Linked DNA regions of Homo sapiens: region 1 is linked to region 2. The links are contacts of gene promoters, found by promoter capture Hi-C in human tissues and cell types (Jung and others, 2019). All regions are on one chromosome and are shown on one strand. The core of a region is centred on a gene start or on the middle of the fragment in contact, and the rest is flanking DNA. Distances in the headings are between cores, read along the strand shown. Region 1 overlaps DENND1A (DENN domain containing 1A). Region 2 holds the start of NEK6 (NIMA related kinase 6).

The links. Contacts are between HindIII fragments. The study calls those that stand out against the background at their distance.
Region 1: a contact is called between a fragment that was not itself captured here and the fragment with the promoter of NEK6 in region 2, in 1 of the 25 tissues and cell types used here (dorsolateral prefrontal cortex).

Annotation. Positions count from the first base shown.
Region 1 is chr9:123,538,385-123,542,023 of GRCh38, reverse strand. All of the region lies in intron 13 of DENND1A (DENN domain containing 1A), which reads left to right. Among named protein-coding and RNA genes, the nearest start is that of MIR7150, 55 kb to the right of the region's middle. The HindIII fragment of the contact is 4,894 bases long and covers 1-3,639 here.
Region 2 is chr9:124,255,758-124,259,329 of GRCh38, reverse strand. NEK6 (NIMA related kinase 6) reads right to left here and starts at 1,381. Exons shown (of 10, transcript NM_014397.6): 1 at 1,245-1,381. LOC613206 (a long non-coding RNA gene) reads left to right here. Exons shown (of 2, transcript NR_149024.1): 2 at 1-120. RefSeq lists an enhancer at 1-764 and silencers at 802-1,171, 1,232-1,361. The HindIII fragment of the contact is 13,117 bases long and covers 1-3,572 here.

The DNA of each region.
Region 1 (3,639 bases), core at 342-2,841, 720 kb after region 2:
AGAGGAAAGCTTGCAAAGTGTTCGATGGAATATTTGAGTGTTGGAGAGGCACTGTGTGTGCACTGTAGTTTGGTACTGGCTAAGGAAGGTTGAGATTCCAGGAGAGCTACTTTTTCAGAGCTATGAAACTTTGGGAAGCCCTCCCTCCTCCCTGAACCGCAGGTTTTTCATTTGTTAAGTGGGGATAAAAATGCCACCCTCGTAAAATTGTTTTCAGAATTAAATGCGATGGCAGATGGGAAGTACTCGTCCTCTGTGCATCTTTCCTGCCCTCCACAGCAAACTTTTTATCCAGTGAATGCCCAATTCACCAGCAGTCACATTCCATGGAGGCGTGGCAGGATTTTTGGAAACCCTTTAACTGGAGATTATTTATGTTTGGCTTGCTGGTCCCTGTTAGTGATGTGACCTGGCAGGTCTCCACTCAACCCTGTTTCCATCAGTCACAGCTCACTGGCATTATTCATAAGCTAGTTGCTTGGGACTTTTCTTTGCTCATATTCCTACTGCGAGGAATGTTCACTCTCGTCTTCACAATAAAATGGTCTGGAGGTTTTGAGGTTGTCTTGAGCAAGTCAGCTGCCAGCTTAAAAGGTCATTATCTGTTCTCTGAAGGGAAACTTTTATCCCGGGTTGATTAGTTTTATCCTGGGTTGATAAGTGTTTATGCAAAAGAAGTAGGGGTAGGAAAAACCTGGTACTCACTGAACTCCTACTTCTTGCCCTTTATGTATATTTTCTTGGTTAAATGTACACAGTATTATCCCCAACTTGCTAAATAAGAAACATAAAGCAGAGAGAATTGAAATTACTTAATGCAACAACTTTGCTCAAACATTTACCAAGACCCTACTAAACCAGGGGACTATTCTAGATGCTTGGAATTGCAGCAGTGAACAAAATGAAGTCCTAGTCCTCAAATCTCTTCTACCTTAGGAAGACACAGAGAGTAAACAAAGATGAAAATCAACATATAATATGTCTGATGGTAATAAGTGTTATGCAGAAAAAGAAAGCTAAGGAAGAAGATAGAGAAAGCTCCTGGGTGAGGTGAGGTAGGTGCCAAGAAGAAAGAGTCGGACTAGAGCCAGGTCTGTCTGCCTCTAGAACTCACGGTTTTTCCACTGGTCCCATGCTGCTTCCGATCCTCTTTGGTGATGGTTTCCAGCATCTAGGGAGGAAACATGAACTCCTCTAGCATCTTGCTTCTTAGTCTAAAGCTGATAATTCAATGTGTCAGGGTGGTGACTTTGCATTCCTGGGGTACAGAAAACATTTTTGCCGTACTCCCTGCTGTCAGCAGCATGTAGCTGTTTCTTTCGTCTCTCTGGTTTCACAGACACATTTAGTCTTGATGCAGAAAGCATCTTGCCAGCTTGGACTCGAGCCCTAGTGCTGAGGAGACCAGTCTGTCCTAAAGGAGGGTCTCTGTGACTGCTGGGCTCAAAGGAACTCATCACTTCTTTTTTCTCTTCTTCCAAAAAGTGATGCTCCAGGGAGTGGCTTATGTCATCTTAATACCTGTTTCCTGATCTTTAGGACTCACCAAGACAGTCTAATTCTATTTTTAAAAATGCTGCCACCTCCTCTGTACCAGGCCCAGTGGCAGGCACTGAAGAAAAGAGATGGAACCTACTTAACAGGAGTCAGCCAGACCTGGGTTCCAAGTACCACTTTTCTATTTCTGTAATTTTGGGCATGCTACTTAACTCCTTAGCTTCAGTTTTGTCATCTGTAAAATGGGAAGAATAAATGTAATCTGCCTCACAGGATTGGTGTGAAGATTAAGTTAGATAATACAGCATGGTACCTGGCTCTTCGTAAGAGCTTAATATTAGTTTTTAAAATATACCACAGTAACCATTTAATTTATAGCTGAGTTTACATTTTGTCCTATGAGGAAACAGTTGGGTAGATACAAGATTTTCTTTCTCAAAGTGTATGTATTTTAGTGGAAAATACAGTAATAATCCTCATCATGCTGACACTGTTTACAAAGAAGTGTTGGCATTCAATCTTTATAGTGTATTTCCCACTAGGTAGGTACCGCTATACCTTTAAAAATCTATTTATTATAAAATAAAACATAAAACTGCCTTAATCAAGTGGATGATGTAATGAATTTTTTTTTTTTTTTTTTTGAGACGGAGTCTCACTTTTTCACCCAGGCTGGAGTGCAGTGGCGCGATCTCGGCTCACTGCAAGCTCTGCCTCCCGGGTTCACGCCGTTCTCCTGCCTCAGCCTCCTGAGTAGCTGGGACTACAGGCGCCCGCCACCGTGCCCGGCTAATTTTTTGTATTTTTAGTGGAGATGGGGTTTCACCGTGTTAGCCAGGATGGTCTCGCTCTCCTGACCTCATGATCCACCTGCCTCGGCCTCCCAAAGTGCATGAATTTTTATAAGACCAACACTTTCCAAAACAAGAAACAGAACTTTCCTGCCCACCCTAGAATCCCCTTTCATCCCAACTCTTTCCTTTTCTCCATAAGTAACCACTATCTTGATTTCATGCCACTATCTTGATTTCATGGTAATCACTTCCTTGCATTAAAAAAAAATAGTTTTATTACCCAAATGTTTATGCCTGGAAACTATAGGTGACTTTTTCTGTTTTAAAAATATATGACTTTTAATTCTCTTTCAACTTATAGGTTCCTCCTCCACCCCTTTCATTTACTTACAATTTATTTGTGTATGAACTCAAGCCTGTGGTGATTTCCCACTGTGTGAGTTTTGCTGATGGCATACCATGTTCCTCTGTCCCCTGTATTTCCTGCTAATTGACAGTTGATCCAGAGATTGGATAGACTGAGGTTCAGTCCCTTTTGCAAGACTGTAGGAGGCATACCAGGTCTTGTTTTGTCTGTTTTAGTGATCTTAGTAGCCAATGTGTTTAATATCTATATCTGTTTATTCACTGGGAGTTGAAAAATGGTGATATTCTAAGCTTATAATTTGTTTTTCATTTATTGGTTGGAATATTTTTATAAAGAGACAGTTTCCCTCATTTAATATTTACTCAGTGTTAGCGTTCATACAAGCCAAAGCAAAATAAATGTTTGACTCTTTCTCTTTATTTACCACTTTTTAATATAATGAATTGTTGGTTCCCTATCATCCTCCAAAGGTGACAATTGATACATACATAAATATGTATGAATTCATATATATATATATATATATATATATATATATATATATATATATATATATGTATGAGTTGTCACCTTTGGATTCATACACACACACACACACACACACACACACACACACTCACACACATAATTGCCTGGTGGATTTCAACATATTTGATGGATTTTGGTTCATTGCGATTGTCATTTTTTATTTAATTACTTTTAATTTTTAATTATTAAAATAATTATTTTATTAAACTCAAACCCTCCCATCTTTGGTCAGTGAGAAATACTTCAGGTTGACACCTGAGTACTTTTTTTCTACATGAACCTAGTAGTCTTTGATAGCTCTCTTGCTATCTGATATTACAAGAGGTTCCAGGCTTATCTTGTACATCCTACCCCCAAACCTGGAATCAGACATTTCTTCAGGAAGCACTGGTTTCTTTTTAGTGAGAAATTATATCTCAAGACCAAAACCTGGCTTAGGATACTCATTGCTAC
Region 2 (3,572 bases), core at 132-2,631:
TGCCTGCACGTACTGTACACCAAACTAAGGCGACATTTTCCCCCAAAAAAGGCAAGCTGAATTTGGAAAAGTCAGACCAACTAGGGAGCTCTGGAATTTCTAAAGTTTGCCTTAAAGCAATTAAGACTTTCAGCTGCAAAGATTTTCAACAGTTAGAGAGCACGCACACACACAAAAGCCTGTCAGTCAAAACTGCAAGGACAGACCTCGGAAGCTGGTGTCCCAAGCCCGCTGTGATCAATTTGTTACTGTCCTGGGATTCACACTTGGAGCCTAGGAGAGGTATAAATAAATCAAAAGATCCGTCTACTTAGCAGGGCAGGCAGAGAGGCCCCCACATACACAGGCAAGTCTAGGGTCAGCCCCCCAGGCCTGGCTGGAGAGAGACAAGAACAAAGACAGGAGAGCCTGGAGGATATTTAGGAAAACACACGTCCTCGGGTGCCCGGCCGAGGGGCCCACCACAGCCTCCGCTCGCCCAGCCTGTGTATGCAGAGAGGGTCCTGCCAGTGGCCCTGCCGCAGCCTGGCTCTAAGACCTTTGCCTCTGTCAGGCCCAGCCAGGCTCTGAGTCTGCCCTCCTGGCCCCTGGTTCACCGGATCAGGCCCAGCCCCGACCCCCAGCCCATGCCAGGCCGCTTCTCTCTCCACGGGCTCCCTGGCTCGGGGGCCATCACTGTGCAAAGGCCTGGTGGGCGCAAAGGGGGCCGGCCCCTCAACCTCAGTAATAAACACGCTCGCACGGCCCTGCACACTCGTTATACTCACACCCACACAGGCATACTTTCGCCCTTCTAGGCTCACGCATGTGCTTGCACACAAATCACTTTGGAATGCACACACGTGCACACACACACTCCCTGAGACCCGCACGTACTCCCTGCGGCGCCCGGCACACTCCTCCGCCCGTCGTCCCCACTCGGGAAGTGGGTAGCGGGGAGCCATGCCCGCGTCCCCGCACGCACTCACCCCAACAACGCCACCAGACGCTCCGGGGTGCACACGCACACCCGCCGGGGACGCGCACACCCCGGGACACGCGGACACGCCGCCCCCGCCCGCCCGGCCGCCGACACGCTCAGCCCCGCGCGGCCACACTCGCGCCCGCCTCCCGCTCTCCCCCGCGGAGCCGTGGGCGCGCGCCCGCCCTCGGCCCGGCTGGGGGTGACGGCCCCGCCGCCCGGCCCCCGCCCTTCTCCGGGCCGCGGGGCCCCACCGGCCCGGCCCCAGCCCCAGGCGACTCACCGGCGCGCGGGCGGGCTCGGCTGCCGCTGGGGGACCGGTGCGCTGGCCCGCGGGCGGCTGGAGCGGTGCGTCCCACACGAGTTTGCGGCGCAGCGGCCGCACGCCCGTCAGCTCGGTTCCGCCGCCGCCGCCACCGCCTGCGCGGGCCCGCGCGCCCGCGCGCCCGCCCCTCCCCGCCGCGGGGCCGCGCCGCCCCCAGCGCTCGTGCGCGCTGCCGCCACGCAAGCTTGAGGGGCGGGGGGCGCCCCGGCGGCGTCCTTCCTGGGCCTGGACCCCTCGACTCCGCCGAGTTCTGCGGCCGATCCGCTCGGCCGAGGAACCCCTTCCCCATTTCAGAGATGGGAAGACTGAGGCCCAGACTCACAGGGCGCAGGCCGGCGTCTCCCCATCTTCTCCGGCTCTAGACTTATGATGAGGGTCTGCAGTCAGCCAACCCTTGGACTCCTGTGCGTCTTCGGATTCCCCATCGCCTAGCATTGCTCCTACCACAGCCCTAGTCATACTGAAATTGGCACAGTAACAAGCACTTATTGTGCACCAGCTGAATGCAGGCACTGAAGTAGGCTCCAAGAGTATTCCGATGAGGGGAAGGCCCTGCCCCCTGCCCTCAAAGTGCCAGCGACTCTTCATCTGGAGCTCCCACTTCCTGTGGCCCCCGGGGGACCAGCAAGAGCCAATGTGCAGAGGTTTCTGGAAGTAGTAAAAGTCCCCACTAAAGAATGTTGAACGCCCCCTCTAGAAGTCAGAGCCTCCCTGAGACCCAAGCAGCTCAGTTCTCACTTCACCTCCTCCCCGCACCGAGAGCGGCCGCTCCTGGCTGGGCTGTTTCCACCCCTGCTGCCTCCCCTCCACATTCAAAACTGTGCTGCACCCCAGGAGGGCTGGAGCCAGGGACACTGACTGCCTGCTTGGGCGCAGCACTGTACTGGGCACAGGGTGAATGCCCGTCTGGCTTCTGTTTGCCAAATGAGTGGAAGTGCTTCAACTGGCCGTGATCTGTAATAATGACACCAACGGAGCGTCCACCACGTGTGCCAACGTTACCCTTGTGCCCATTTTACAGATGGGCTTTGAGGCTTAGAAATGAAATTTCAGGCTGGGTGCGGTGGCTCACACCTGTAATCCCAGTACTATGGGAGGCTGAGGTGGGAGGATGCCTTGAGGCTGGGAGTTTGAGGCCAGCCTGGGCAATATAGCAAAACCCCATGTCTACAGAAAAATGTAAGAATTAGCTGGGTGTGGTAGTGCCTGCCTGCAGTCCCAGCTACTCGGGACGCTGAGGCGGGAGGGTCTCTTGAGCATAGGAGTTAGCAGCTGCAGTGAGCTATGATCGCACCACTGCACTCCAACCTGGACAACAACAATAAAAAGCAAATTCTTTTGTTCAAAGTCACCCAGATGGTAAGTGGTTGAGCTGGAAAGTGCACGGCAGATTGTCTAATTCCAGTGCCTGTGTGGCCAATCACTAGGCAGCCCTGCCTCAGGAACAGCATAGCCCTGGGCTTCTGGAACAAGAGGGCAGACGAGGCAGCAGCTGGCCCACAGGAGCGGGCCTGGTCCCAGCTCTTGTGGATGAAAATGCAGACATCACAAACCAATGGGGAGGAAATGGATTGTTCTGCAAATTGTTTAGCCGTTTAGCTGGAGATCTGTTTACAGCCTTGCCTCCCATGATATACACCACAATAAATGTCAGACAGATTGAAAAGTTAAATAGAAGAAATAAACACTGCAACAAATAATAGAAAGAAATCGAAGTTCTGAGACAGCGTATTGCAGTGTTACTAGAGGATTTGTGATACTGGCCATATTCATGCAGCAAACATTAGTTCAGTCATTGGTTCACCCGACACATCTATGAGCACCTTCCATGGGCCAGGTACTTTTCTAGGCACTGGGATAAAGGAGTGAACAAAATATGGCCCTTTCTTGGGGCTTCAGTCAAGGGGGAGGGATGGGGTGGGAGGAAGACACTGAATATCTGCCATTTCAAGGATAAGAAGTTTGGGCCGGGCGCGGTGGCTCACGCCTGTAATCCCAGCACTTTGGGAGGCCGACGCAGGCGGATCACAAGGTCAGGAGATCGAGACCATCCTGGATAACACGGTGAAACCCTGTCTCTACTAAAAATACAAAAAAATAGCCGGGCATGGTGGCAGGCGCCTGTAGTCCCAGCTACTTGGGAGGCTGAGGCAGGAGAATGGCGTGAACCCGGGAGGCGAAGTTTGCAGTGAGCCGAGATCGCGCCACTACACTCCAGCCTCAGTGACAGAGCGAGACTCTGTCTCCAAAAAAAAAAAAAAAAGAAGTTTGGTGGAGAAATAACTC